Linked DNA regions of Homo sapiens: all the other regions are linked to region 4. Evidence: promoter capture Hi-C in 16 types of primary human blood cells and fetal thymus (Javierre and others, 2016). All regions are on one chromosome and are shown on one strand. Each heading gives the region's core, a stretch centred on a gene start or on the middle of the fragment in contact. The rest is flanking DNA. Distances are from core to core; before and after follow the strand shown.

Region 1 (2,700 bases), core at 68-2,567, 290 kb after region 4:
AAAATTCAAGATGATCTAAATAAAGAGACTGTGTTCATGGGTCAGAAGATTCATTATTGTTAAGATGGCAGTTCTTCCTAAATTCATCAGTAGATTCAGTACAATCTCAGTGAAAATTCCAGCAGACTATTTTGTAGAAATTGGCAAGCTGATTATAAAATGTATATGGAAATGCAAAGGATCAAACTAACTTTGAAAAAGAGCAAATCAAGACACTATGATAGTAACATAAAAGTAGATATAGAGGCTGGGTACAGTGGCTCACATCTGTAATCCCAGCACTTTAGGAGGCTGAGGTAGGAGGATCACTTGACGCCAGGAGTTTGAGACTAGCCTGGGCAATATGGCGAGACCTCATCACTCATACACACACACACACACACACACACACACACACACACACACACATATTTTTTTTTTTGAGACAGAGTCTTGCTGTGTCACCCAGGCTGGAGTGCAGTGGTGTGATCTCGGCCACTGCAACCTCCGCCTTCTGGGTTCAAGCGATTCTCCTGTCTCCGCCTCCCAAGTAGCTGGGATTACAGGCACGTACCACCACACCCAGCTAATTTTTGTATTTTTAGTAAAGACGCAGTTTCGCTGTGTTGGCCAGGCTGGTCTCGAACTCCTGACCTCGTAACCTGCCTGCCTCAGCCTCCCAAAGTGCTGGGATTACAGGAATACAAAAAATATTTTTAAATTAGCCAGATACGGTGATGCACACCTGTAGTGCCAGCTACTGCTGTGAGCTATGGCCATGCCACTGCACTCCAAAGTGATACCCTGTCTCCAAAACAAAACAAAACAAAAGTAGACAAACATAAAAATAGTAAAAGACAGAGTCCATAAATAGATTCATAAATGTAAAAACAACTGATTTTCAGTAAAAGTACAAATAAGCAAGGTTTGTCTCCAAAAAAAACAAAAGTAGACAAACATAAAAATAGTAAAAGACAGAGTCCATAAATAGATTCATACATGTAAAAACAACTGATTTTCAGTAAAAATACAAAGGTAATTCAGGAGAGAAAAGAGTATTTTTAACAATGCTGCGGGAATGATTGGATATTCCTATGCAAAAGGAAAAAAAGAACCTCAATCCATACCTGTTACCTACACAAAAATTAACTCAAAATGGGCCATAGACCTAAATGTAAGGGCTAAAAAAATAACACTTCTAGCAGAAAACAAGAGAAAATCTTTATGACCTTGGTTTAGTTTTTTAGATGTGACACCAAGATGGTTTTTTGGCTTCATCAAATAAAGACTTTCTGTTCCTTGAAAGACACTTTTAAGAGAATCAAAAGACAAGCTACAGACTGGGAAAAAATTTTTACAAGTCATGTATCTGATAAAGGACTTTTATTCAGAATATATGAAGAACTCTTAAAACTGAAAAATAAGAAAACAACCCAATTAAAAATGGGCAAAGAATCTAAATAGACATTTCTTCAAAGAAAATATACAGAGGTCAAATAAACACATGGAAGATTCTCAACAACTTCAGGCATTAGAGAAAGCAAATTAAACCCAAAAAGAAATATGATAGACCTATTACAATGTCCAAAACTAGAAAGAGTGACCATACCAAATGTTGGCAAGGATGTGAAGGAACTGGAACTCATACACTGCTGGTGGAAATGTAAAATGTTACAGCCACTTTAGAAAACAGTGGCAGACTCTTTAAAAGTTATGCTTACACATACCATATAATACATTCTACTCACAGGTATTTACCCAAGAGAAGTGAAAGCATATGTCCATCCAAAGAATTGTATGTGAATGTTCACAGCAGCTTTATTTGTAAATAAATACTGGAAACAACCCAAATATCCACTAATAGATGAATGGATAAAAAAAAAGTTACGCTATATTTATACAATAGGATGCTAAGTAATAAAGGAACAAACTTGATATATGCAGCAACATGGATGAATGGTGAAATAATTATGCTGAATAGAAGAAGCCAGATATAAAAGAATATGTAGTTTATGATTCCATTTATATGAAACTCTAGAAAATGCAAGCTAATATAGAATGTCAGAAAGCTGATCAGTCGTTGTAGCGGTGGGGTACAGAGAGGTACAAGGGAAAAATTATTACAAGGGCCTTAAGGAGACTTTTGGTGATGATGGATTTGTTTACTATCTTTATTGTGATGATGGTTTCACAGTTACATACACAATCAAAACATCAAATTGCTCACTATAAATATGTACAGTTTATTGTATGTTAAAGCTGTTTTAAAAAAATAAGAAAGCCAAAAAGAAAGTAGGACTCGCTACTGGAATTCTTACTACTCTAGCAAACATTACAGAAAAACTATGTAACTATATAAATTAATTACAGATACTGTATTTTAAAATACCTCAGCGGGGCCAGGCACAGTGGCTCACGCCTGTAATCCCAGCACTTTGGGAGGCCGAGGCGGGTGGATCACCTGAGGTCAGGAGTTCAAAACCAGCCTGGCCAAGATGGTGAAATCCCGTCTGTACTAAAAATACAAAAATTAGTTAGGCACGGTGGCACATGCCTGTAATCCCAGCTACTTGGGAAGCGGAGGCAGGAGAATCACTTGAACCCAGGAGGTGGAGGTTGCAGTGAGCTGAGAATCGCACCATTGCACTTCAGCCTGGGCGACAAGAACAAAACTCCCTCTCAAAAAAAAGAAAAAGAAATATTTCAATGGATATTTTTTAA
Region 2 (2,700 bases), core at 79-2,578, 420 kb after region 4:
GGCAATGAGAAGAGGCACTTCCTAGAGTCTAGGGCCTAGATTATTAACTGAGAAGTTCTGTGAGTCTGAAGGCTGAAGGGTGAAGAAGTAATGCCCAAGCTAATCAATCCTTACACCTGTTTTCTCCAAAGCTTCACCCAAAAAGCTCTTGTGCTACTCTAATTTTATCTGTGAGGACACCTGCAGCAGAGATATGGTTCACCGTTCTAGTACTTGCTGTGAGAAGGCAGGCAACAGCAATCAGTTTTCTCAATCTACTCAGAACCATTCAGCCAGCCACACCCCAACCAGGAACCACTTCAAAATTGCACCCTACGTCCCCTAGGACTTTTACCTCTTTTGATTTTTTAAATTATTACCTAAACACAATAAAAGTAAAAGAAACATTCGAATCAAAATACAACAAAACTTTACATGGTTTTATTATACATTACTGTTATTGAAAGCAAACTTTATACAAAAAGTTTTATACAGATAAAAAAAATCCTTGGCTAGGCAAAGCCGTTTATGTGTGTGCATATACAGAAACACACATACATACATATACACACGGTATTTTACATCATAATTATACATATTTATAAATACATTATTTAAATTATTTTACAATATACCAAAACAAGGAGGCAATTATAAAAGCAAATAAAAAATGGATGAACAATTGAACTAAATAGTCACTAAGTTTAAAATGCTACAAAACTATTTTTTTAATCTAGAAAGTCATTTCTTTAAAATATCAAAACTAAGATTTCAATACATCACTGTTGCTTTCATTTTGGTAAGTTCTAACATGTTTAAAAATAAATATTTTGACCAAAAACAGATAAGCAAATCAGAATGATGACTAGCACAAGCTGAACATGCTGATGTGAAATTAGAGAGTCACTGAGTAATAACAAATATAGATTATCATCTGGTAACCAAAAAGGTGATAAACCTCCCTCTAGTGCTCATTTAAAACATGAGGAATTTGAAGCTTCTGTGTAGTATGCAATATCAGTTAAGAGTCCCAGGAATTCAGCAACTTATCTGTAATGTAAGAAAATGCTAAAGTTATTATTCTATTTTTCTGATAGGACTATCTCATAATGTGTTATCTTAAATGAGCTCCATTTAGACGATATTGGTGTTTAATAAACTAGCTTTCTCATCTTCCAATTGGTCTCAAAATTTAAAAAAAAACCTAGCTTTTGCAATCAGTTTGGTAACTATCATTATACTTGATATTGACAAAAATTTAATAGGACTACAGTACTTGTGGGGAAAAAAAATCAGTTAAGAGGCAAGCTACGAATGAAATAACCCACAATATGTGCTATCCTGCAAGCAAAGAAATCTCAAATATCAAATTCATTAAATGGTTTTAGATTTTTGGCCAGGTGCAGTAGCTTACGCCTGTAATCTGAGCACTTTGGGAGGCCAAGGCAGATGGATCGCTTGAATCCAGGAGTTCGAGACCAGCCTGGGCAACACAGCGAAACCCCATCTCTGTTTAAAAGAATTTACATTCTCTTCACAAGAGAACGGAAATCATACTTTAATATAACATTAAGGTAAAAAAAAGAAACGATTTAATTTCTTAAAGGCAGCAAAAATCTTAAAAAGCACAGTTAATCTAATAAATAATCAAGCCACTTTTGCCCAGAGCTTTTTAAAAAAAAGTTCTTTAGAATAAGCTTCTTCTCCAAATTCCCCATTATTCAAGCTTACAGTATTCTGTTGTGTTTTGTTCAAGTGATTCTCCTGCCTCAGGCTCCCAAGTAGCTGGGATTACAGGCACGTTCCACCATACCCAGCTAATTTTTGTAATTTTGGTAGAAATGAAGTATCATCATGTTGGCTGGGCTGGTCTCGAACTCCTGAACTCAGGTGACCTGCCCACCTTAGCCTCCCAAAGTGCTCGGATTACAGGCATGAGCCACTGCACCCGGCAACATTCTGAATTATATAAGTAGAAATTTAACGTCATAATCACTTGAACCCGAGAGGCAGAAGTTGCAGTGAGCTGCGATCATGCGGCTGCACTCCAGCCCGGGCGACAGAGTGAGACTCCGTCTCAGAACAAACAAAAGAAATTTAACATCATAGTAAACTACTACACATATTTTGAAGATTTCACTAGCACTGCGCTCTATGTCCAAATCAAGTTTTTGTTTTTTTTTTCTTTTCTTTCTGAGAGGCAGAGTCTCACTCTTTCAGGCTGGAGTGTAGTGGCGCAATCTTGGCTCACCGCAACCTCCACCTCCCAGGTTCAAGCGATTCTCATGCCTCAGTCTCCCAAGTAGCTGGGATTACAGACACGTGCCACCATGCCTAGCTAATTTTTGTATTTTTTGTAGAGATGGGGTTTCACCATGTTGGCCAGGCTGGTATAGAACTCCTGGCCTCAAATGATCTGCCCACCTCGGCCTCCCAAAGTGCTGGGATTACAGGTGTGCCACTGTGCCCGGCTAATTTTTTGTATTTTTAGTAGAGACGGGGTTTCACCATGTTAGCCAGGATGGTCTCAATCTCCTGACCTTGTGATCTGCCCTCCTCGGCCTCCCAAAGTGCTGGGATTACAGGCGTGAGCCATCGCGCCTGGCCTGACTCCATCTCTTAAAACATTTTTTTCACGCCTGTAATCCCAGCACTTTGGGAGGCCGAGGTGAGCAGATCACATGAGACCCAGAGTTCAAGACCAGCCTGGCCAACACAGCA
Region 3 (2,876 bases), core at 137-2,636, 290 kb before region 4:
ATTGCCTGCTTTGCTGTTCCTAAGAGTATTAAGATTTTCCTTCGGGTTAGCATCTCCTCCTCCTCCTTAGAGCCCATGTTTCCAGGAGCCCTCAATCTAAGTTAAACAACGTACAGTCATGCATTGCTTAACTACAGGGATAAGTTTTGAGAAGTGTGTTGATCGGCAATTCCACCATTATGTGAACATCATAGAGTGTACTTATACAAACATTATATACTTATATCATTACAAGATGACATAGCCTACTATACACCTAGGCTATATGGTATACCTAGGTATATAACAGCTATACCTGTTCCTAGGCTACAAGCTGTATAAACCATGTTACTATACTGAATACTGCAGGCAAATGTAACACAATGGTATTTGTGTATCTAAACATAGAAAAGGTACAGTAACGAAACAATATAAAAGATTTAAAAAAATGGTACACCTATATAGGGCACTCACCATAAATGGAGTTTGCAAGACTGGAAGTTACTCTGGGTGAGCCAGTGAGTGACTGGTGAGTGAATGCGAAGGCCTAGAACATTACTGTACACTACTGTAGACTTTATAAACACTGTACTCTTGGGTTACACTAAATTTATTTTTTAAAAGTTTTCTTCAACAATAAATTAACCTTAGCTTATTATAACTCTTTTACTTCATAAACTTTTAAATTTTTTAAAACTTTTTGACTCTTTTGTAATAACACTTAGCTTTAAAACACAAACACACTGAACAGCTGTACAAAAGTATTTTATTTGGATCCTTATTCTATACACTTTTTTCTGTTTATTTATTTTTTTATAGTTTTTAAACGTTTTGGCTAAAAAGTAAGACAAACATATGTTGGCCTAGGTCTACCTACACAGGGTCAGGATCATCAACATCACTATCTTCCACCTCCACATCTTGTCCCACCAGAAAGTCTTCAGGGGCAATAACACGCACGGAGCAGTCATCTCTTATGATAACAATGCCTTCTTCTGGAATACCTCCTGAAGGACCTGCCTGAGGCTGTTTTATAGTTTTTTTATGGAAGTAGGAGTACACTGTAAAATAACAATTAAAAAGTATAGTATAGTAATTATATAAACCAGTAACATAGTTGTTTATCATTATCAATATTATGCACTGCACATAATTGTATTATACTTTTGTATGACTAGCAGCATAAGTTTGTTTACACCAGTATCACCACAAACACGAGTAATGCACTATAAGTAATGTGTCATGCTATGACATTACTATGGCTACAATGTCACTAGCCAATAGGATTTTTTCAGCTTCATTATAATCATATAGGACCACTGTCACATATGAGGTCCATTGACCAAAAAATCGTTATGCAGCGCATGACTGTGTGTATCCTCAAGCATCCTGTTCCCCATCCCTCAAGGGTAAACTTACCAAGGGCTTTTGAAAAAGAATGTTTAACTGCTCTTCTGAGATGGCTACCAAGAGATGCTCTCGGTTGTACTTTGTGATGTGTCATGTGAAAAATGAAACTGCTAGTACATGCATTCTCAATGGAGGCAATAACACCTCCACAGGGGGCAAAAACTGGAGAGAGAAAAAATCTTACTCTTTTTACATAGAAAGCACAAATATACATACAATACATAAATAGATATACAGTGTATCTGAGGTATTAAAACTTTGAGGAGGGGCATTAAGATGTCTAAAAAGGCTCCTTAAAAGAACAATAATGAAAAAAAAGATTGAAAAACACTATTGTAGAATATAGCAAATACCACAAAAGGCAGAAGAGAATAATGGAAACTCAATTATTGATGTTATCATCAAGCCTATGATGGAAATATGGAACACTTGTCTGACATATATATGACCCAGAACATTAAAGTGGTGTTACTTTAGTCCCAGTTTCTGCTAAGCCTCCATTAAAATAGGTCCCAGATATCCCTACACCCAAAATGAGCCAAATAAGATCAGAATCTCATTTAGAACAAGCAAAGAGGTGGTGGGAAATGGATTTTGAAACCCTTGTCCTCTCAACCCCTGGAGAGTATAAAAGGGCCAAAATTGAAGACAGAGTTGGAAGTTAGAGAGTAGTTATTAGGGTGCTGACATGAGGGAGAATGGTGGAGGGTGCTCAAACTCGGAGGGACTTCAAGGAATTTACTTAAATAGTTTTGATATGTATCCGGAAACGTGTGGAGACACACAGACTGGTGACTGAAGTTGACATGAAATTCTGAGGTCAAGTTTCTATCCTTAATTCATGAAAGTTAAAGGAAATGCAAAGTCAAAATTGAAGTGAACTGAGAGAGGTTCAGCTCCCCTCCATCATTCCTCTGCATTTAAACTTTATTACTTAGGATTATTTGGTTACAAGTGACAAAAATACAACTTGGACCAGCTTAAATGAAATGGTAATTTACTAGCTCACATAACCAAATCACAGAATGTAAGAGATGGATTGGACCTTGGGAATGACTGAACCCAGAGACATAAACACTGATGAAACTTTCCATCTATTACTAGAAGCTAGGGAAAAGGCGCAGGCAGACAAAAAAGAAAAAAGTAATCTGCAAGCAAGTTGGACAAAAATTGATTTTAGACTGGCATCAATATTAGAAGTCCAAATCAGTGGATAAAACATAGAAGTGTTGGGGTAGAAGATATTCAAAATCATGTAATCAATTCACTTTGAAATGCATCTAGCAAAATGGTAGATGGATGTAAATATGGATGGAGAGATGAGATGCACATATGTATATTATGATAAAGCAAGTATAGTAAAATGTTAAAGGTAGAATCCTGGTGGTGGGCATATAGGTGTTCACCATAAATTCTTTCAACTTTTCTCTATATTTGACATTTTTGTAACAAAATTTTGGGGGGAAAAATCAAGCAGGAGAACTGCA
Region 4 (2,700 bases), core at 180-2,679:
CTCCTAGCTCTAGGACTTTTCCTTATCTGAAGGCCGGGTCGGTTAGCAGAGAAAATCTCACAGTCCCGTGCCAGACCTCCACGCAGGGACTCTGCAGTGCTGTTAGAAAAATTAGCTCAGCACCTTCAGCTTGCTTTCAGCCATCACTTAGCTTTCCACACAGACATTCCAAATGGGGCCTTTCAAAACTCTGCCCTCAAATGAAGGTAGTTCAGAGCAACACTTTAGATGATATCACAAGACTCCCAGGACGCTTCACTGCTTCCTCAGCATACGCCAGTGCCCGTTTTACAGGGGGGATTTATGATCCTTCTCTCAGTAGAGCGAGCCAAACTTTTATAATATTCATTAAAAATCAGCACCACGTGTAATAATATGGAATACTGCCTGTACACAAGAGGGCCAAGTTATAGGTGTTTAGGGAAACGTGGCAGAATTTTCTGGCCTTGGCAAGAGGTAAAGTTGCAGGCACCAGCACAACACTAACACAACCTTATTTTATTGCAAATGTACATTCAGCCTAAATCCTAATTACCTTCTGTAAAATCCTAACCACCACCAAGCTTTCTTCTGACAGGGCACTCACACGACGGCCTTTAAGGGCAGCAACAACATCCTAAGAGCCGCAGAAAGGAAAGGCAGGGGAGAGTGGCTGGAAGGCAGTAGGAGCTGGGGCTGAAGCCCGGGAGGTTGGCTTTTAATGTCCTCCTGAAATTGACCACTCTCTTTCCAAAAACACTGGCTTGGGGGCTTAAAGGTTCGCTCAGTAGGGCAGGCGGAGGGCCTCCTGAAAAGGATTGAGAAGTCAACATTCAAAAGGCTGCTTTTACTCGCCCGGTCCCCACCCAAAAGGGAGTCCGGTCAGCTTTGTGGGGGCCAGTGGAGCATCTTTTCTTGCCCTTCCGGGAAAACGCTAGCTAACCCTGGGATCCCCGGTCCCGACGTCTGCTCTCCTTCCCCAGGTGCAGCACCTAGGGCTCTGGCCCCCTCCCCACGTGCCACACCAGCCCTCACCACTACTCTCACCCTGCTATGCCCCCAACCCTCGTCTTTCGTGGCCGGGAAGGCCAGGCCGAGCGGGGCGGTCAGCCGGGCCGGGAGGAGGGGGCTCTCCGGGCCGCGCGGCCGCACAAAGCGGGGAGATCTGCTGCTGCGGCGGCATGAGGCGCGCCCCCTCCCGCGAGCCAGCGGAGCGCGCGCGCCCGCCCCCGTCCCCCGCCCCCCGCCCCAGCCCCCGGAGCGCCATTCGCGGAGCGGCTTACGCTAGTCGCCGGGCGTACCGCGCCCCAGCGGCCGGGGAGGTGCGCTGCCCGGCTCCCGTAAAGTTATTGTGAATGGGGAGCGGGTGACGTCAGCGCCGAATGTCAACAATGTAGCGATTGAGAGTGTGGGCGTTCCGGGGAGAGCGCAAGCCGCGCGGCGCGGAGCAAACAGCGCCGAGCCGCCGCCGCCTCAGCAGCAGCAGCAGCAGCAGCAGCGGCAGCAGCGGCCGTGCACGCCCGGGCTGCGGTCGCACAGCGCTAACGTGAGCGGCCGCCGCCCTCGCCACCCCGCCTGCCCACTCCCGCCGCCGCCCCGCTCTCGCTTTCCCCCCGGCCTCCCCTCGCCCCTTCCCCTCCCCCTTCCCGGCGCACTCGGGGGGCTGGGAACGAGCTGCCATGTGATGCGCGTCCCCTCCGCGAGCTTTCGGTGACCCACGAACTGCCCACCTCGCCGGCTGCCGGGAGGGGGCTGCGAGCCGGGAAGACGCGGGGAAGAGGAGGCGGAAAAGGACGCAAAGTTCTCCGGCGAGGTGAGTCCCGGGCCCCGGGCCCCGGGCCCCGCCGCTGGGCGGGGTGGCGGGGCAAGTTTGCGGGGGGAGCGGGCGCGCGGGGCGGGCGGGGAGGCGTGGGGAAACGGCGCGGGAAGGGAGCCCCGGCCGCCGGGCGCGCAGCCGCCCTCCCCGCGCCCTGCCCGCTTTTATGGCATTTTCTAGGAACGGGAAGGGGGTGGGAGCCGAGCCGGCGGCCGCGCCGCGCCGAATGTGTGCTCTCCCTCCCGGCTGTTTACGGCGGCCGAGGCGCATTGTATTTTGCTGGCGTCGAAGGGTGTTTTGGAACAGCAGAGGGAGGAGGAGCAGAGAGTAATAAGTCAGGCATGGGGAGGGCGGGCTGCAGGAGGCGCGCGTCCGCGCGAGCCGCAGCAGCTGTCAGACCCGCGGCCCTGCCCCCGGCCCGGCGAGGCCCGGGTGTCCCGGCCCCCAGCCTGCGATCCCAGCTCCAGGCCGGGCGGCCTCCTCCTTAACCCTCGGCGTGCGCATCCCGGGCTGCTCCGCGAGGACCTTGGCCGCGGCGCCTTTGCGCTCAGCTGTCAGCCGCCGCCGGGTGGCCCGGACCACCGCGACCGGCGGGGAATCAAAGCCCAAGTTTAGGGTCGCAGGAAGAGGCGAGCTGGGGGCCTCGCGGCGCAGACCTGGATCGAATCTCTCCTAGCGAAAGATCGGGTTGTCGGAAAGCGTCCCGCGTAGCTAAGACCTAAGGGCGCCAGGCTTCTGAGAGGGAAACCTTGCACCTCCTCTCCCACAGATCCTCCATGAAGTCAAGGTGCAACACACACACACACACACACACACACACACCCTACACTCCAGTCTCCAAGCCCCAGAAGCTTCACCCAGGAGACTGGTTTATGAAGGGGACACTGCCCTCCCCGTCCCCGCGT
Region 5 (2,912 bases), core at 29-2,528, 440 kb after region 4:
AATACTAAAAGAAAGCTTCCTTATAAACTGTCAACACTTTAACATTTTAATTTCTATTTATAACAACTTTTTTTTTGTTGTTTTACTTTTTTTAAGTGACAGGGTCTTGCTCTGTCACCCAGGCTGGAGTGCAGTGGCACAATCACAGCTCACTTTAACTTCAAACTCCTGAGTTCAAGAGTCCTCCCTCCTCAGCCTCCTAAGTAGCTAGGACTACAGGGGGCCATACACAGCTAATTGTTTTATTTTTTTGTAGAGATGAGGTTTCGCTACCTTGCTAAGGCTGGGCTCAAACTCCTGGCCTCAAGCAATCCTCTCACCTCTGCCTCTCAAAGTGCTGAAATTACTGGTGTGAGTCACTGTGCCTGGTAATTTGTTTTTTATGTTTTCATTTATACTCTACCTGTGTCTGTATTTCTTTAAATTTTTTCATCAGCTCTTTCATTTGTAGTTGACATTTTCCATATTCTACTTGCAACTATAAAATATAAAAGGATTAATTGAAGTATCATTCAAAATTATTTTCTTAGCTTAACTGGCATTTCTAAATATTTTAAATTTTGCAAATCAATTCACTAAGAAGGCAGATGAGGTCTACTTCTACCAGAAAGATAACCAGTTTTAAAGTTAAGCCTACAAATAATCTATTTTGTTTAGTTTCACATTCAACATCCAAACCTTAAAATTCAAATATAGTAGAAAGAAATAGAAGTCTGAGGACATTTTATGCAACATATAATTTAACTTTGTACATATCATGAAAGAAAAAATGTTGTAACACTGTTTGCCTGTTGAGGTTTTATATTCAGATGCTTAAATTGGGTCAAGCAAAATTATAACTAAATTTAGACAAGTATTCAGAAAACATTCCTTTAAAAAACAGGTCTGAAGACAAAAACTGACTTAAATATTTGTTAGTCTAAGAGCTAAGTTCCTAAACAAAATATCTGTTCAAAACTAAGCAGCTGACTGCTCTTCAGAAGCTACAAAACAGTAAATAACTGTCCTTAATAATTGTGGCAACCCATACATCATTATATGTTGCCTCCTTTGCAGTTCCTTCTTCAGTCAGGATCTCTTCATATAAGTCCAAACAATTTCTTGATGGTACACAGGATTTGGAAGCGCTGTCTAAAAACAAACAAACAAAAAAAACCTTCCATAAAAATACTTGTTACACTTTTTTCTTTTGTTTTTTTGAGTCTCGTTCTGTCACCCATGCTAGAGTGCAGTGGCAGTGGTGCAAATCTTGGCTCACTGTAGCCTCACCCTCCCAGGTTCAAGCCATTCTCATGCGTCAGCCTCCCGAGTAGCTGGGATTACAGGTGCACGCCACCACGCCCCACTAATTTTTGTATTTTTAGTAGAGATGGTGAGATGGTGTTTCACCATGTTGGCCAGGCTGGTCTCGAACTCCTGACCTCAAGAAATCCACCCGCCTTGGCCTCACAAAGTGAAAATATTTGTCACACCTTTTTTTTTTAGGAGTCTCCCTCTGTCACCCAGGCTGGAGCGCAGTGGCGCTATCTTGGCTCACTGCAACCTCCGCCTCCTGGGTTCAAGCGATTCTTCTGCCTCAGCCTCCCTGAGTAGCTGGGACTATAGGCACGTGCCACCATGCCCAGGTAATTTTTTTTGTATTTGTAGTAGAGACGAGTTTTCACTATGTTGGCCAGGCTGGTCTCCAACTCCTGACCTCAGGGGATCCGCCCGCCTCGGCCTTGCAAAGTGCTGGGATTACAGGCGTGAGCTACCGCGCCCAGCCTTGTTACACTTTTTGATATTTTATCTACTTCAAAGATTATACATTTCTCCATCTCCCATACTTCATCCTACATTTCACTTATCCTACATTCCAAATTTATACTGATTTTACAGATGGACTACCAATTTACCTAAAATGGTTGTGTCAACCAAATTAGGTATGAAGATCATAACTGTTCAAAACTCTGAGAAATCTGATTATGGAAAAGGTTTCTAATTTGAATAGGTCATTAGATTCTCAGCATATCACTCTTACTGATACGTTTAAAAATATTTATAGTAACTTACACTTTTCAAATGTTCTAATATCATATAACCTTCAAGAGTATGAGTGCGGCCAGGTGTGGTGACTTATGCCTGTAATCCCAGCACTTTGGGAGGCTGAGGTGGGCGGATCACGAGGTCAGGAGATCGAGACCATCCAGGCTAACATGGTGAAACCTTGTCTCTACTAAAAATACAAAAAATTAGCCGGGTGTGGTGGCACGTGCCTGTAGTCCCAGCTACTTGGGAGGCTGAGGCAGGAGAACCACTTGAACCCAGGAGGCGGAGGTTGCAGTGAGCCGAGATCAAGCCACTGCATTCCAGCCTGGGCGACAGTGTGAGACTCCGTCTCAAAAAAAAAAAAAAAAAAAAAGAGTATGAGTGAGTAGTAACAGACACCAGCACTAGTTGCACTTCAATAGTAGAAAATGTTTTTGCACAAGGCTCAATTAAATCTGAGACTGAGATGAATAAAAAACCTGTGTGCTAATTTGTTTTTCTGATCAAGCTTTGGTTAAGATTGGGTTCTGGAAGTTACTGTGGGGGAAAAGAAAGAAAAGAATTACCTCAGTGTAATTACAAAGAATGAGCAAATTCTTTAGGAGCTATGATATACCAGGATTTAGTAACCACAAAACAATGAACTGACCAAGAAAATGAAACTATTTTTATGGAATTCACATACCAGAAACAGCACTGTCCAACCCAGCGTATATGTCCAGTGAGCCTTCATCATTGTTCTTAAGAGGAGAAGCTGCAAGAAAGGCAAAGATTAGTTAAAAATGACTTTAGGCACTGAGATTTTTCCATTCCTACACTAAAGGACCAGGAAAAGAATGAGATTTAACAGTTTTGCTTTAAATAAGAGATAAGCCAGGCATGGT
Region 6 (2,835 bases), core at 174-2,673, 270 kb after region 4:
TTTGGTTACTGTAGCCTTGTAGTATAGTTTGAAGTCAGGTAGCATGATGCCTCCAGCTTTGTTCTTTTGGCTTAGGATTGACTTGGCAATGCGGGCTCTTTTTTTGTTTCCGTATGAACTTTAAAGTAGTTTTTTCCAATTCTGTGAAGAAAGTCATTGGTAGCTTGATGGGGATGGCACTGAATCTATAAATTACTTTGGGCAGTATGGCCATTTTCATGATATTGATTCTTCCTACCCATGAGCATGGAATGTTCTTCCATTTGTTTATATCCTCTTTTATTTCATTGAGCAGTGGCTTGTAGTTCTCCTTGAAGAGGTCCTTCACATCCCTTGTATGTTGGATTCCTAAGTATTTTATTCTCTTTGAAGCAATTGTGAATGGGAGTTCACTCATGATTTGGCTCTCTGTTTGTCTGTTATTGGTGTATAAGAATGCTCATGATTTTTGCACATTGATTTTGTATCCTGAGACTTTGCTGAAGTTGCCTATCAGCTTAAGGAGATTTTGGGCTGAGAAGATGGGGTTTTCTAGATATACAATCATGTCATCTGCAAAGAGGGACAATTTGACTTCCTCTTTTCCTAATTGAATACCCTTTATTTCCTTCTCCTGCCTGGTTGCCCTGGCCAGAACTTCCAACACTATGTTGAATAGGAGTGGTGAGAGAGGGCATCCCTGTCTTGTGCCAATTTTCAAAGGGAATGCTTCCAGTTTTTGCCCATTCAGTATGATATTGGCTGTGGGTTTGTCATAGATAGCTCTTATTATTTTGAGATATGTCCCATCAATACCTAATTTATTGAGAATTTTTAGCATGAAGGTTGTTGAATTTTGTCAAAGGCCTTTTCTGCATCTATTGAGATAATCATGTGGTTTTTGTCATTGGTTCTGTTTATATGTTGGATTATGTTTATTGATTTGCGTATGTTGAACCAGCCTTGCATCCCAGGGATGAAGCCCACTTGATCATGGTGGATAAGCTTTTTGATGTGCTGCTGGATTTGTTTTGCCAGTATTTTCTTGAGGATTTTTGCATCAATGTTCATCAAGGATATTGGTCTAAAATTCTCTTTTTTTGTTGTGTCTCTGCCAGGCTTTGGTATCAGGATGATGCTGGCCTCATAAAATGAGTCAGGGAGGATTCCCTCTTTTTCTATTGATTGGAATAGTTTCAGAAGGAATGGTACCAGCCCCTCCTTGTACCTCTGGTAGAATTCGGCTGTGAATCCATCTGGTCCTGGACTTTTTTTGGTTGGTAAGCTATTAATTATTGCCTCAATTTCAGAACCTGTTATTGGTCTATTCAGAGATTCAACTTGTTCCTGGTTTAGTCTTGGGAGGGTGTATGTGTCAAGGAATTTATCCATTTCTTCTAGATTTTCTAGTTTATTTGCGTAGAGGTGTTTATCGTATTCTCTGATGGTAGTTTGTATTTCTGTGGCATCGGTGGTGATATCCCCTTTGTCATTTTTTATTGCGTCTATTTGATTCTTCTCTCTTTTCTTCTTGATTAGTCTTGCTAGCGGTCTATCAATGTTGTTGATCTTTTCAAAAAACCCTGCTGGTCTGATTTTCATTCGAAAATCAGAAACCTTCCTCCTACCATCTTCTCTCAAACCCAGGCCTTCCAGAGCCACGTCTACTCCCAGGGCAGCAGAGGCCTGGGCTGTGGTCGCTGTCACATTCTGAAAGCATCATCCTGAGGGTGCCATTGAGGGTCCTGTGTGCTGGCTGTTTTCCTGAGGGCTGCGGAAAGGAAGGGCATAATTGGTCCTCTGTTTGGCAGTTTGAGATAGGCCGTGGACATAAGGGGGTGGGATCAGAGCCATCTCTTAGAAGCAAGAGCACACAAGCTTTTACCAGGAGAGAACAGCCTAATTCTACTCTGCAAGGATCCACATTGTATAGAGCCAATGGGCAATGTGTTTCTGGATTTGTGAGTATTTGAGCACAGAGAGCTTCAGAAATAAAGCACACTCAAGACCTTCTACTCAGCATCTCTGCAAATGGGAGCTTTTCCTTCACTGTGTCAATCTAAGCCTTTCTTTTGCTTTTGTACCATCCCATTATCTTGGCTGTGTGTCTTGGAGGTTATATCATTAGTTTTCTCTAACGGTCGCATTGCTTAGAATGGAGTAAGTTTTCTGTGGATAAATGGATAGGCAAGGCGACCTTGAGGCCCAGAAAAGACAAGCAGCTCTGGAGAGCGTAGGGATATGTGTGAAGAAACAGGCTGGAAGGAGACCTCAGCAGAAACAGAAGTGACATATGGACCTGTTGGGATTAGGAAAAGTCTTTTTTAGTCACTTTCTTATTAAGTATGTATTGAGTGTAGCACTTTGAAGTTCTGCGGCTTCAATGGTGAGCAAAACAGGTAAAAATTCCTGCCCTCAATAGAAAAATAGGTCATTAACAAAATATGAGTAAAATATAGTGTGTGTGAGATGTGAAAACGTTATAAAGAAACATAAACAGGGAGGGAGGATGGAGAGTGAGGTGGGAGGCTGGGGTTGTGGTTTAAACGGAGCAGGGTGGTTAGGGAGGCCTCACTGAGAATGTGATGTCTGCACAGAGACCTGAGGAGGCCAGGGATTGAGCCATCACATTTACATCTCCTAACAGTCTCTCGGGAGACAGTCTTTATCTTCATTTCACACATAAGGAGACTCTAAGGACTTAAATAAATTGCCCAAGTCCCCTCGTTCTTGGAATGGCAGGGCGGGGAGTCTTAGTTTGTAGGGTTGTTTGAAATCAGCTGTCATGGGGTTAAAATGCAGATCGCTGAACCTGCTGTGGTTACCCTAAATCTATGCAGTTAGAGAACTATTGTT

What was found. The method cuts DNA at HindIII sites, captures the fragments that hold promoters and counts their contacts. A CHiCAGO score of 5 or more calls a contact.
Region 1: a contact is called between a fragment that was not itself captured here and the fragment with the promoter of BACH2 in region 4, in 6 of 17 cell types (non-activated CD4 T cells, naive CD4 T cells, total CD8 T cells and 3 more). The highest score is 8.8, in non-activated CD4 T cells.
Region 2: a contact is called between a fragment that was not itself captured here and the fragment with the promoter of BACH2 in region 4, in 2 of 17 cell types (activated CD4 T cells and naive CD8 T cells). The highest score is 10.3, in activated CD4 T cells.
Region 3: a contact is called between a fragment that was not itself captured here and the fragment with the promoter of BACH2 in region 4, in 2 of 17 cell types (megakaryocytes and fetal thymus). The highest score is 5.7, in megakaryocytes.
Region 5: a fragment that was not itself captured here is called in contact with the fragment with the promoter of BACH2 in region 4 in 2 of 17 cell types (activated CD4 T cells and total CD4 T cells); the score reaches 9.0 in activated CD4 T cells.
Region 6: a contact is called between a fragment that was not itself captured here and the fragment with the promoter of BACH2 in region 4, in 2 of 17 cell types (non-activated CD4 T cells and naive CD4 T cells). The highest score is 5.6, in non-activated CD4 T cells.

Annotation. Positions count from the first base shown.
Region 1 is chr6:90,009,641-90,012,340 of GRCh38, reverse strand. All of the region lies in intron 5 of BACH2 (BACH transcriptional regulator 2), which reads left to right. Among named protein-coding and RNA genes, the nearest start is that of GJA10, 120 kb to the right of the region's middle. The HindIII fragment of the contact is 6,501 bases long and covers 1-2,700 here.
Region 2 is chr6:89,872,135-89,874,834 of GRCh38, reverse strand. It overlaps CASP8AP2 (caspase 8 associated protein 2), which reads right to left. Exons shown (of 10, transcript NM_012115.4): 10 at 399-1,034. The coding sequence ends at 1,026. Among named protein-coding and RNA genes, the nearest start is that of GJA10, 21 kb to the left of the region's middle. The HindIII fragment of the contact is 700 bases long and covers 979-1,678 here.
Region 3 is chr6:90,588,812-90,591,687 of GRCh38, reverse strand. It overlaps LOC124901363 (a long non-coding RNA gene), which reads right to left. Exons shown (of 2, transcript XR_007059680.1): 2 at 729-1,040. Among named protein-coding and RNA genes, the nearest start is that of MAP3K7, 3.2 kb to the right of the region's middle. The HindIII fragment of the contact is 5,597 bases long and covers 1-2,876 here.
Region 4 is chr6:90,295,572-90,298,271 of GRCh38, reverse strand. It overlaps BACH2 (BACH transcriptional regulator 2), which reads left to right and starts at 1,429. Exons shown (of 9, transcript NM_021813.4): 1 at 1,429-1,792. It overlaps LOC105377891 (a long non-coding RNA gene), which reads right to left and starts at 1,033. Exons shown (of 7, transcript XR_942778.4): 1 at 536-1,033. RefSeq lists silencers at 1,516-1,565, 2,191-2,250. The HindIII fragment of the contact is 2,083 bases long and covers 566-2,648 here.
Region 5 is chr6:89,853,036-89,855,947 of GRCh38, reverse strand. It overlaps CASP8AP2 (caspase 8 associated protein 2), which reads right to left. Exons shown (of 10, transcript NM_012115.4): 3 at 2,714-2,782; 4 at 1,031-1,131; 5 at 404-478. Among named protein-coding and RNA genes, the nearest start is that of CASP8AP2, 25 kb to the right of the region's middle. The HindIII fragment of the contact is 2,521 bases long and covers 18-2,538 here.
Region 6 is chr6:90,029,145-90,031,979 of GRCh38, reverse strand. All of the region lies in intron 5 of BACH2 (BACH transcriptional regulator 2), which reads left to right. Among named protein-coding and RNA genes, the nearest start is that of GJA10, 140 kb to the right of the region's middle. The HindIII fragment of the contact is 873 bases long and covers 987-1,859 here.